3 separate regions of the Homo sapiens genome follow, and regions 1 and 2 are each linked to region 3. Evidence: promoter capture Hi-C in human tissues and cell types (Jung and others, 2019). All regions are on one chromosome and are shown on one strand. Each heading gives the region's core, a stretch centred on a gene start or on the middle of the fragment in contact. The rest is flanking DNA. Distances are from core to core; before and after follow the strand shown. Region 1 has its middle 7.3 kb from the start of MOB2. Region 2 has its middle 19 kb from the start of SYT8. Region 3 holds the start of KRTAP5-5 (keratin associated protein 5-5).

The links. The method cuts DNA at HindIII sites, captures the fragments that hold promoters and counts their contacts. A contact is called where the count stands out against the background at its distance.
Region 1: a fragment that was not itself captured here is called in contact with the fragment with the promoter of KRTAP5-5 in region 3 in 2 of the 25 tissues and cell types used here (lymphoblastoid cells and mesendoderm cells).
Region 2: a contact is called between a fragment that was not itself captured here and the fragment with the promoter of KRTAP5-5 in region 3, in 3 of the 25 tissues and cell types used here (IMR-90 fibroblasts, aorta and dorsolateral prefrontal cortex).

Annotation. Positions count from the first base shown.
Region 1 is chr11:1,492,715-1,495,414 of GRCh38, reverse strand. No RefSeq gene overlaps it. Among named protein-coding and RNA genes, the nearest start is that of MOB2, 7.3 kb to the right of the region's middle. The HindIII fragment of the contact is 6,425 bases long and covers 1-2,700 here.
Region 2 is chr11:1,814,981-1,817,680 of GRCh38, reverse strand. No RefSeq gene overlaps it. Among named protein-coding and RNA genes, the nearest start is that of SYT8, 19 kb to the left of the region's middle. The HindIII fragment of the contact is 5,465 bases long and covers 1-2,700 here.
Region 3 is chr11:1,628,471-1,631,170 of GRCh38, reverse strand. It overlaps KRTAP5-5 (keratin associated protein 5-5), which reads right to left and starts at 1,396. Exons shown (of 1, transcript NM_001001480.3): 1 at 241-1,396. The coding sequence starts at 1,330. The coding sequence ends at 617. The HindIII fragment of the contact is 7,029 bases long and covers 1-2,700 here.

The sequences.
Region 1 (2,700 bases), core at 16-2,515, 140 kb after region 3:
TTGAACCCGGGAGGCAGAGGTTGCAGTGAGCTGAGATTGTGCCATTGCACTCTAGCCTGGGTAAGAAGAGTGAAACTCCGTCTCAAAACAAACAAACAAAAAACAAACAAAAAACCAAGAATCTTCTTGTTAATTTCTTTTAAAAATAAGAAATTATCCCGGGATTTTGATAGGATTGTATTTAATTAAGAAAATTGACATCTTAACAATATTGAGTCTTCTAATCCATGGCCATGGCAAATTTTTTTATGTGTTTAGGTCTTTAATTTTTCTCAGCATTGTTTTGTGCTTTTCAGTGAGAGGCTTTGTACATTTGTGTTAAGATTATTCCTAAATTTAAAAATTATATTGTAAATAGCAGTTTTATAATTGTATTTTCCATTTATTTGTTGCTATTATATAGGAATAAAATTAATTTTCTTTACTGACCTTGTGCCCTGTGATGCCACTAAATTTACTTATTAGTTCTAGCAGACTTGCCCCAGTTTCCTTAGACTTTTCTGTTTACATAACCATGTTACCTGCCAAACAAGACGACCTTTTCCTTTCCAGTATTTATGCCTTGTATACCTTTGTCTTGCCTCATTACAGTGGCCTCATTGTGCCGCTGGTATAAGAGTGACACCGAATAAGAGTGGTGAGAGTGAGAAGTGCTCAGAGCCCCTTCCTTGTTTCTGATTTTAGGGGGAAAATCTTTACTCCATCAGCAGCATTTGATGTTAGCTTCAGATTTTTTATAGGTGTCCTTTCTCAGCTGAGGATGGTCCCTTCTGTTCCTGGTTTGCTGAGAGTTTGCATACACGTTTTGCCATGTGCTGTGTCTGCATCTAATTGAGATGGCCATATTTTTTTCTCCTTTCATTAATGTGGTGAATGACATTGATTTTCAGGTGTTAGCTAAGCTTACATTACTGGGTGAATCTCTCTTGGCTATGCTGTATTATCCTTTCAATACGTTGTTGAATTAGTTTGTTACTATTTTATTACAGAGTTTTGCATCCACATTCATGAAGGATATTGGGCTGTAATTTCCCTTTTCTAGGAATGCTGTTGTCTCACTTTGGCAGCAGCATTATGCTGGTCCTCCTCCTCTGTTTTCTGAAAGAGTATGTGTATGGTTTGTATTATTTCTTACTTATATCGTGTGTAGAGTTCATCCGTAAGCCACCTGCACCCACCATTTCCTTGTAGAAAGATTTTTAATTATAAATTCAGATTTTCTACTTCTTTGTATGTCAGTTTTGGTAGCTTGTGTTTGTGAAAAATTTGTCTGTTTCATCTACATTTTCTCTTGGCATTCAGTTCCTTATAGTGCTTTGTTACCCGCTTAATATCTGTAGGATCTGTAGGAATGTCCCTTTCATTTCTGATATCGGTAATTTATGCCCTCTTCCTCTCTTGGCTCTCTGTCTCTTTTCTGCTTAGTCTGCTTGGGAAATTGATCTTTTTTTTTTTTTAAGTTTTCCAGGCTAACTTTGTGTTTAATTCTTCATTATTTGTCTATTTTTCATTTCATAGATTTCTGTTATTTCCTTCCACTTTGCATTTAATATGCACTTCCTTTTTCTGGCTTCTGAAGGTGGATGTATGAATCACTCATTTTAAGCCTTCTCTCCTAATATGAACATTTATAAATTTCTTCCTCAGCTGAGCTTTAGCTGCATTCTACACATTTTTATAAGTGATGTTTTTATTGTAATCTTCTCTTTAGCACTGTTTAATCTGATGTTCATTTCATCTCAAAAATTTCATTTTCGATGTATTCTTCAGTTCCAGGAATTTTTGTTTATTATTTTGTGGAGTTTCCGATTTTTTCAGAGCCCTAATTGCTTTGTTGATTATGTCCAACCTTTCCTCTAAATCTTTGGATATATTGGCCGGGCACAATGTCTCATGCCAGTAATCCCAGCACTTTTGGGAGGCCAAGGCGGACAGATTACTTTAGGTGAGGAGTTTGAGACCAGCGTAGCCAACATGGTGAAACCTCATCTCTACAAAAATACAAAAATTAGCTGTGCTTGGTGGCGTTCGCCTGTAATCCCAGCTGCTCTGGAGGCTGAGGCAGGAGAATCACTTGGGAGACAGAGGTTGCAGTGAGCCGAGATTGTGCCACTGCACTCCAGCCCGGGCAATAGAGGACACTGTCTAAATAAATAAATAAATCGTTGAATATATTTATTTCATTCTTTTAAAGTCTTTGTTTGTTACTTTCATTATCTTTGTTATCTCTAGGCCTGTTTCTGTTGACTTATTTTTCCTGGTTATGAGTTACATTTTTCTGCTTCACCTGTCTAGTAATTTTTTTGTACACTAGGTATTGTGGTAGCAATGTTGTTGAAAGTCTCAGTTCTGTTTTCCTCCCTTAAAGAGTAGTGTGGTTTGTTCTGGAAGGCAGTTAATTTGCTCTTGGTTAGCTAGGATCCGTTTGAGGCTTGTTTTTAAGCTTTATTATGCCAGGTCCAGAGAACCCCCTCACTCTGGGCTATTGTAGCCCAGTCCCCATGGCACAGCCATTGTGGAATCTCTGTTAAATCTATTCGCCCAAGGTGTCTCCAGTCTGGGTGTGGGAACACGTCTGTCTCCTGCCCCGTGTGGCCTCCAGAACCTCTCTTCCTCACGCTTCCCAGAGCTGTTCTCTGCCAGGTCTTGCAGATGTTCTCTCTGACACCCTCAGCTATTTGTCCAGAAGCTTCCTTGGAT
Region 2 (2,700 bases), core at 95-2,594, 190 kb before region 3:
AACTTATTGTCTTTACTGGTGACCATGTGGTCCCACATTTGGTCAATGGGGATACATTTAAGTTGACTGGTATGTCATCTTGAAATGACCTCAGTAGTCTTTGATTGTTTCTTAGCTTTCTGATGCAATGAGAAGTTCCAGGTTTATCTTATGTCATGGCTATGTCATGGCTCAGCCCAGAACCAGTCATTTCTCCAAGGGTTCACGGTTCTTTTTGAAGGGAGTTTGGTGGGTATTTAGAGGTCCCACTTTGGGTGCCAGGGTGCTCATTGCTACTAGTCTATTTTCATTGTTTCTAAGCTTTTACTGTGGACAGAATTAGGCAAGACCTATTTTTCCAGTTTTTGTATGGTGGTAAAATATGTGTAACAAAATTTACCATCTTCTAAGTGCACAGTTCCGTGGCATTCAGTACATTCGCGCTGCTGTCATCCCACTATCCAGCTCCAGAATGCCTTTTGTCTCGAAAAGCAGCAGCTCTGCTCCCATTAAATCCAACTCCCCCTCCACCTCCCCCAGCCCCTGGCACTCGCCATCCTACTTTCTGTCACTATAAATTTGACTACTCTAGGGACCTCATACAAATAGAATCATACAGTATTTGTCTTTTCTTTTTTCTTTTTTTGACTGGCTTAGGAAATAACTTTTTTTTGTTTTGTTTTTTTAAGATAAAGTCTTGCTCTGTCACCCAGGCTGGAGTGCAGTGGCATGATCCCAGCTCACTACAACCTCCACCTCCTGGGTTCAAGCAATTCTCCTGCCTCAGCCTCCTGAGTAGCTGGGATTACAGGCATGCACCACCATGCCCAACTAATGTTTGTATTTTTAGTAGAGACAGAGTTTCACCATGTTGGCCAGGCTAGTCTTGAACCCCTGACCTCAAGTGATCCACCCGCCTAGGCGTCTCAAAGTGCTGGGATTACAGGAGTGAGCCACTGTGGCCCAGCTGGAAATATATATTTTTAAAGGTAAATATATCATGGAATCATACTGATATTTCTAATTTACCTACAGGATTTTAAGTTTCTTTCTTGACTTCTTGGAGTGCATACGTTTATCTGAACCGTTTTATGACTGTGAACTGTTTTATGTGAACTGTTTTATGACTGAAAAAACTACAGGGCACAGGCAGGTTGCTCAGCATCCTGGTTGCTGTCTCTTTCAGGTGCCCCTTGCCCCTTTTTGCAAGCTTTATTTTTATTTTTTTGAGACAGAGTCTTGCTGTATTGCCCAGGCTGGAGTGCAGTGGTGTGATCTCGGCTCACTGCAACCTCCGCCTCCTGGGTTCAAGTCGTTCTCCTGCCTCAGCCTCCTGAGTAGGTGGGGCTGCAGGCGCCCACCACCTCACCTGGCTAATTTTTGTATTTTTAGTAGAGACGGGATTTCGCCATGTTGCCCAGGCTGGTCTCAAACTCCTAGCCTCATGTGATCTGCCCGCCTCATCCTCCCGAAGTGCTGGGATTACAGGCATGAGCCATGGCGCCCGGTCTCTTTTTGCAAGCTTTGATTGACAGTTCCATCTTTTAAAAGATATTTATTCACACCCCAAAACCTTTCTTAGTAAACGACAGTGTGTTAATCCCCATCTGGTCTGCCCCATGTTGAGTGCCCCAGACACGGGTCTGGGAGACCAGCCACAGCTTTGCCCAGAGCCTCTCACCCACTGTCAGCCACAGAGGCTCCCCAGCGTGGACACCCCTTGGTTTGTCCAACCAGACCCACTCCAACAGGTGGGTCACCTGCGCCATTTGCTCTTACATGGGGTGCCCCATGCATGGCCAACACAGCCACCGTTTGTAGGTTTTGAGGCAGTTTGGGTGGCCCCAGCTGACATCAAGTGGTCCTGGATGACACCTGTGTTCTTAGCCAGCCTAGAGCTCCTGCCTCAGCTGCCTTCATCCCGGGAATGCGTGGCAAGGCAGCTCTGTGGGCTGCTGTCTTCTGGTGCATTCTCCCTGAGTTTATCCAGAAGTTAGTCCCATTCCTGGGCCCACTACAATGTGGGTTAAGCCCTCATGACTCTGAGATCTCCTCATTCCCGAGGAACATGCTAGCACTTCTTGCAGCTCCACATCTCCCCACCTTGTCATCCTGGAGTATTCTCAGAAAGGCCAGAAGTTGTCACCCCTTCTAGGGGACTCACACGTGAGCCCAGCCCCTGTCCGTTTATGGAAGGAGACACCCCTGCTCCCATGGGGCCCTTCTCCTGGGGAAGGGAGGGAAAGAGCTTGGTGTTTGGGCCTGTATCTGGCCTTTCTCCCGGGAAGGCCCTGGACGTGATGCCCAGAGCGCCCAGCCACCCAGCAGGCTCCTGGCCGCCCATGCCCCAGGCCCAGCCTCCTAGGGCCGTAGCCTCCCCAGGGCCTCAGTGCCCCACCACCACCGGGAAATTCCAGTGGAATCATCACAGAGCCCTGGGGATGGTTAAGGCTCTCTGGTTGCAATAACACAAACTGAAGCTGGCGAACTTAAGCCAGGAAGAAAAGAGGGCATTTATTGGAAGGAGGGGCAGCCGTCAGACCAGAAGAAAGAACCAAAGAGCCCATTCAGGCTTCCTGGTCCGGGAGCCCATGAGCAGTCCCTGGAATGACACGGTCTTCCTTCTCGGGGAGCATGGCCACAGCCACCAGTTGATGGACAGGCCCACCAAGCTGCCCCTCCATGGAGGAAGGGTGGTTCCTTGCAGGGGAGGGGACACAG
Region 3 (2,700 bases), core at 147-2,646:
CTCCCCACATACCAGACTGTGAGCTTGGATTTACTCTGCTCTGTCATCTCTGGAGCCCAACACAACAAGGGGCCCAGAGCAGAAAGCTATAGACGTTAGTTCTGTGCATGAAGACATGGACCATGACATGAAAGATGCTGAGGGGAGAGAAATGGGAACAGGCCCAGGGGTGGAGGCAAGAAGATGGTGCTTCTGGGAATGAGAGAGAGGTGGGAAGGAGAGAACCACAAGACAGTGAGCTTTGTGCTTAGAGACTTTGTTTATTTAGAGGGTCAGGATTCAGTCTTGATATACAGACAGCCAGAGAGATTGAGGGTCGATCACACTCCTGAAAGAAGGAGCAGCTGTCAGGGTCTAAGGGGTCTGATCTGCCTCTGGGGCCTCAGTGGGCCGCTTTGGATCTTAAATGAGTGAGGAGCAGGGAGAGGAAGTTCAGGAGAAGTAGTAGGCAATGAGCCAGAAGGGGTCCTCAGTCAGTTTCGGGAGCACTGGTGTGGAGTGGATGAAGCCAGTGAGGACACAGTGGAGACAGTGGAGCACCAGAGAACCCAGGGCAAGGAAGCTGGGCAGCCGGGCCCTTCACCAGTCAGGCCACCTGCAGTCTGCAGTCAGAGCCTCAGATCTTACACTGGCAGCACACGGGGACACAGCAGCTGGACTGGCAGCAGCAGGGCTTGTAGCAGCTGGATTGGCAGCAGGATGATCCACAGCCTGAGAAGCAGCTACAGGGCTTACAGCAGCTGGACTGGCAGCAGTAGGGCTTACAGCAGCTGGACTGGCAGCAGTAAGGCTTACAGCAGCTGGACTGGCAGCAGGATGACCCACAGCCTGAGGAGCAGCAGCAGGGCTTGCAGCAGCTGGACTGGGAGCAGCCATAAGAACCACAGCCCCCCTTGGACCCCCCACAGGAGCCACAGCCCCCCTTGGACCCCCCACAGGAGCCACAGCCCCCCTTGGACCCCCCACAGGAGCCACAGCCCCCCTTGGACCCCCCACAGGAGCCACAGGCCCCCTTGGACACCCCACAGGAGACACAGCCTCTCTTGGAGCCCCCGCAAGAGCCACAGCCCCCTTTGCCACAGCTGGAGCAGGAACAAGCTGGCACACAGCAGCACATGGGCTTGCAGCAGCAGACAGGCACACAGCAGCCGGAGCCACATCCCCCACAGCCCGCACAGCCGGAGCCACAGCCCCCACAGCCTCCACAGCCGGAGCCACAGCCCCCACAGCCAGAGCCACAGCCTCCACAGCCGGAGCCACAGCCCCCACAGCCGGAGCCACGGCCTCCACAGCCGGAGCCACAGCCTCCGGAGCAGCCACAGCAGCCCATGGTTCTGGTGGATTGAGGGTGGAGCAGGTAGAGGAGCAGGTGAGAGGGAGGTGCAGGTGTGGAGCCCCCTGAGCCCGGGCTCTTTATATCCCTGTCCAGGGTCAGGTGAGAGGCTGGGCACACTGTCACTTCCTGGTTCCTGCTTGTGCCACTGGTCCCAGTATTCTCTTCTGCTTTACATTTTTATAAATAACTCCTGTTTTCCTCGCACTTTTCTCGAATGTGCTGTCAGGTCTGTGATGGAAGCGGCCCCTCAGTAAACACTGGCCCCGCGGTGAGTTTCCCTTTCCATGTGACAAGAAGGAAGCGATGGGCAGGCAGTGGCTCGCTCAGAGGCCTTGGTCTTGCCGAGGGTGATTTTGAGCCCAGGACTCCTGGCTTGCTCCCGGGAAGATTCCTCTGCGGGAGCATCGTGTCTTGCTTGGGACGTGCCTAGGCCCTACACCTTCACGGTCCACAGCAGCTCCTGGCCCGCGGGCTGTTTCCAAGGGTCCCAGGACCTGGGGCTTCAGCCCTCAGCTCAGCAGGGTCGTTTTCGGTGTAAGACTTTGTTGGAAGGTTTGCAGTGTTGACTGAGACGGGGATTTTAAGCGCTTATTCTGGAGCTTGCTGCGTGCTCCCCATGGAAAGTGTTCTCCTGTGATAACCGCGGTCTCTTCCAGGGCTTTCAGACCACTCGGGTGGCAGGGCTGACAGATACAGTACAGGATGCCTGCTGGAACTTGAATTTCAGATCATCGAAGGCTGCCTTTTGAGGAAGGAAATCCAAGCATTGCAAGGGGCAGACACTGCCTCTGCGCTGGGTCAGGACCCAGATCGCATTGTCTCCTGCAGCGGTTCCTCCTGCCGCCGCACGGTGTCGCTGTGAAGCGGGTTCCCCCACTGCGTGGCCGGCCCAGGGGCTCCCGGACAGCGGCACAGGCTGATGGCAGAGGCCCTTTCAGGGCCAGTGAGCGGAAGAGGATGCCCTGTCTGGGTGCCCGCCTGCTCCGGGTCCCGGGCTCAGCCTGGGAAGCAGCAACTACATTCGGGTGCAGGCCCACTGGATGCTAAAGAAAGCCGGTGGAGAGCAGGGAACCGGATGGCCATTTGCCCCCGTGACCACAATACCTGTGAGTGCCCCGAGCCCAGTCAACAGGCCTCAGGCCACGGTGTAAACACCAGCTGGCACTCGGTGACTCTTGCCGTGTATGCTGGAGCCCCACTCTGTTCTGGGGCAGGGGACTGTATCTCAGGGAGGAACAGAAAACCCATTAGGAGAGAGCCGCCTTGTGTTGGCTGTCCCCACCAGAGGCGGCATCCTCCAGCTCTGGAACAGAGGCAACAGATACATTTGCTTCCTGATACATTCGCATCCAGCGCCTGATACA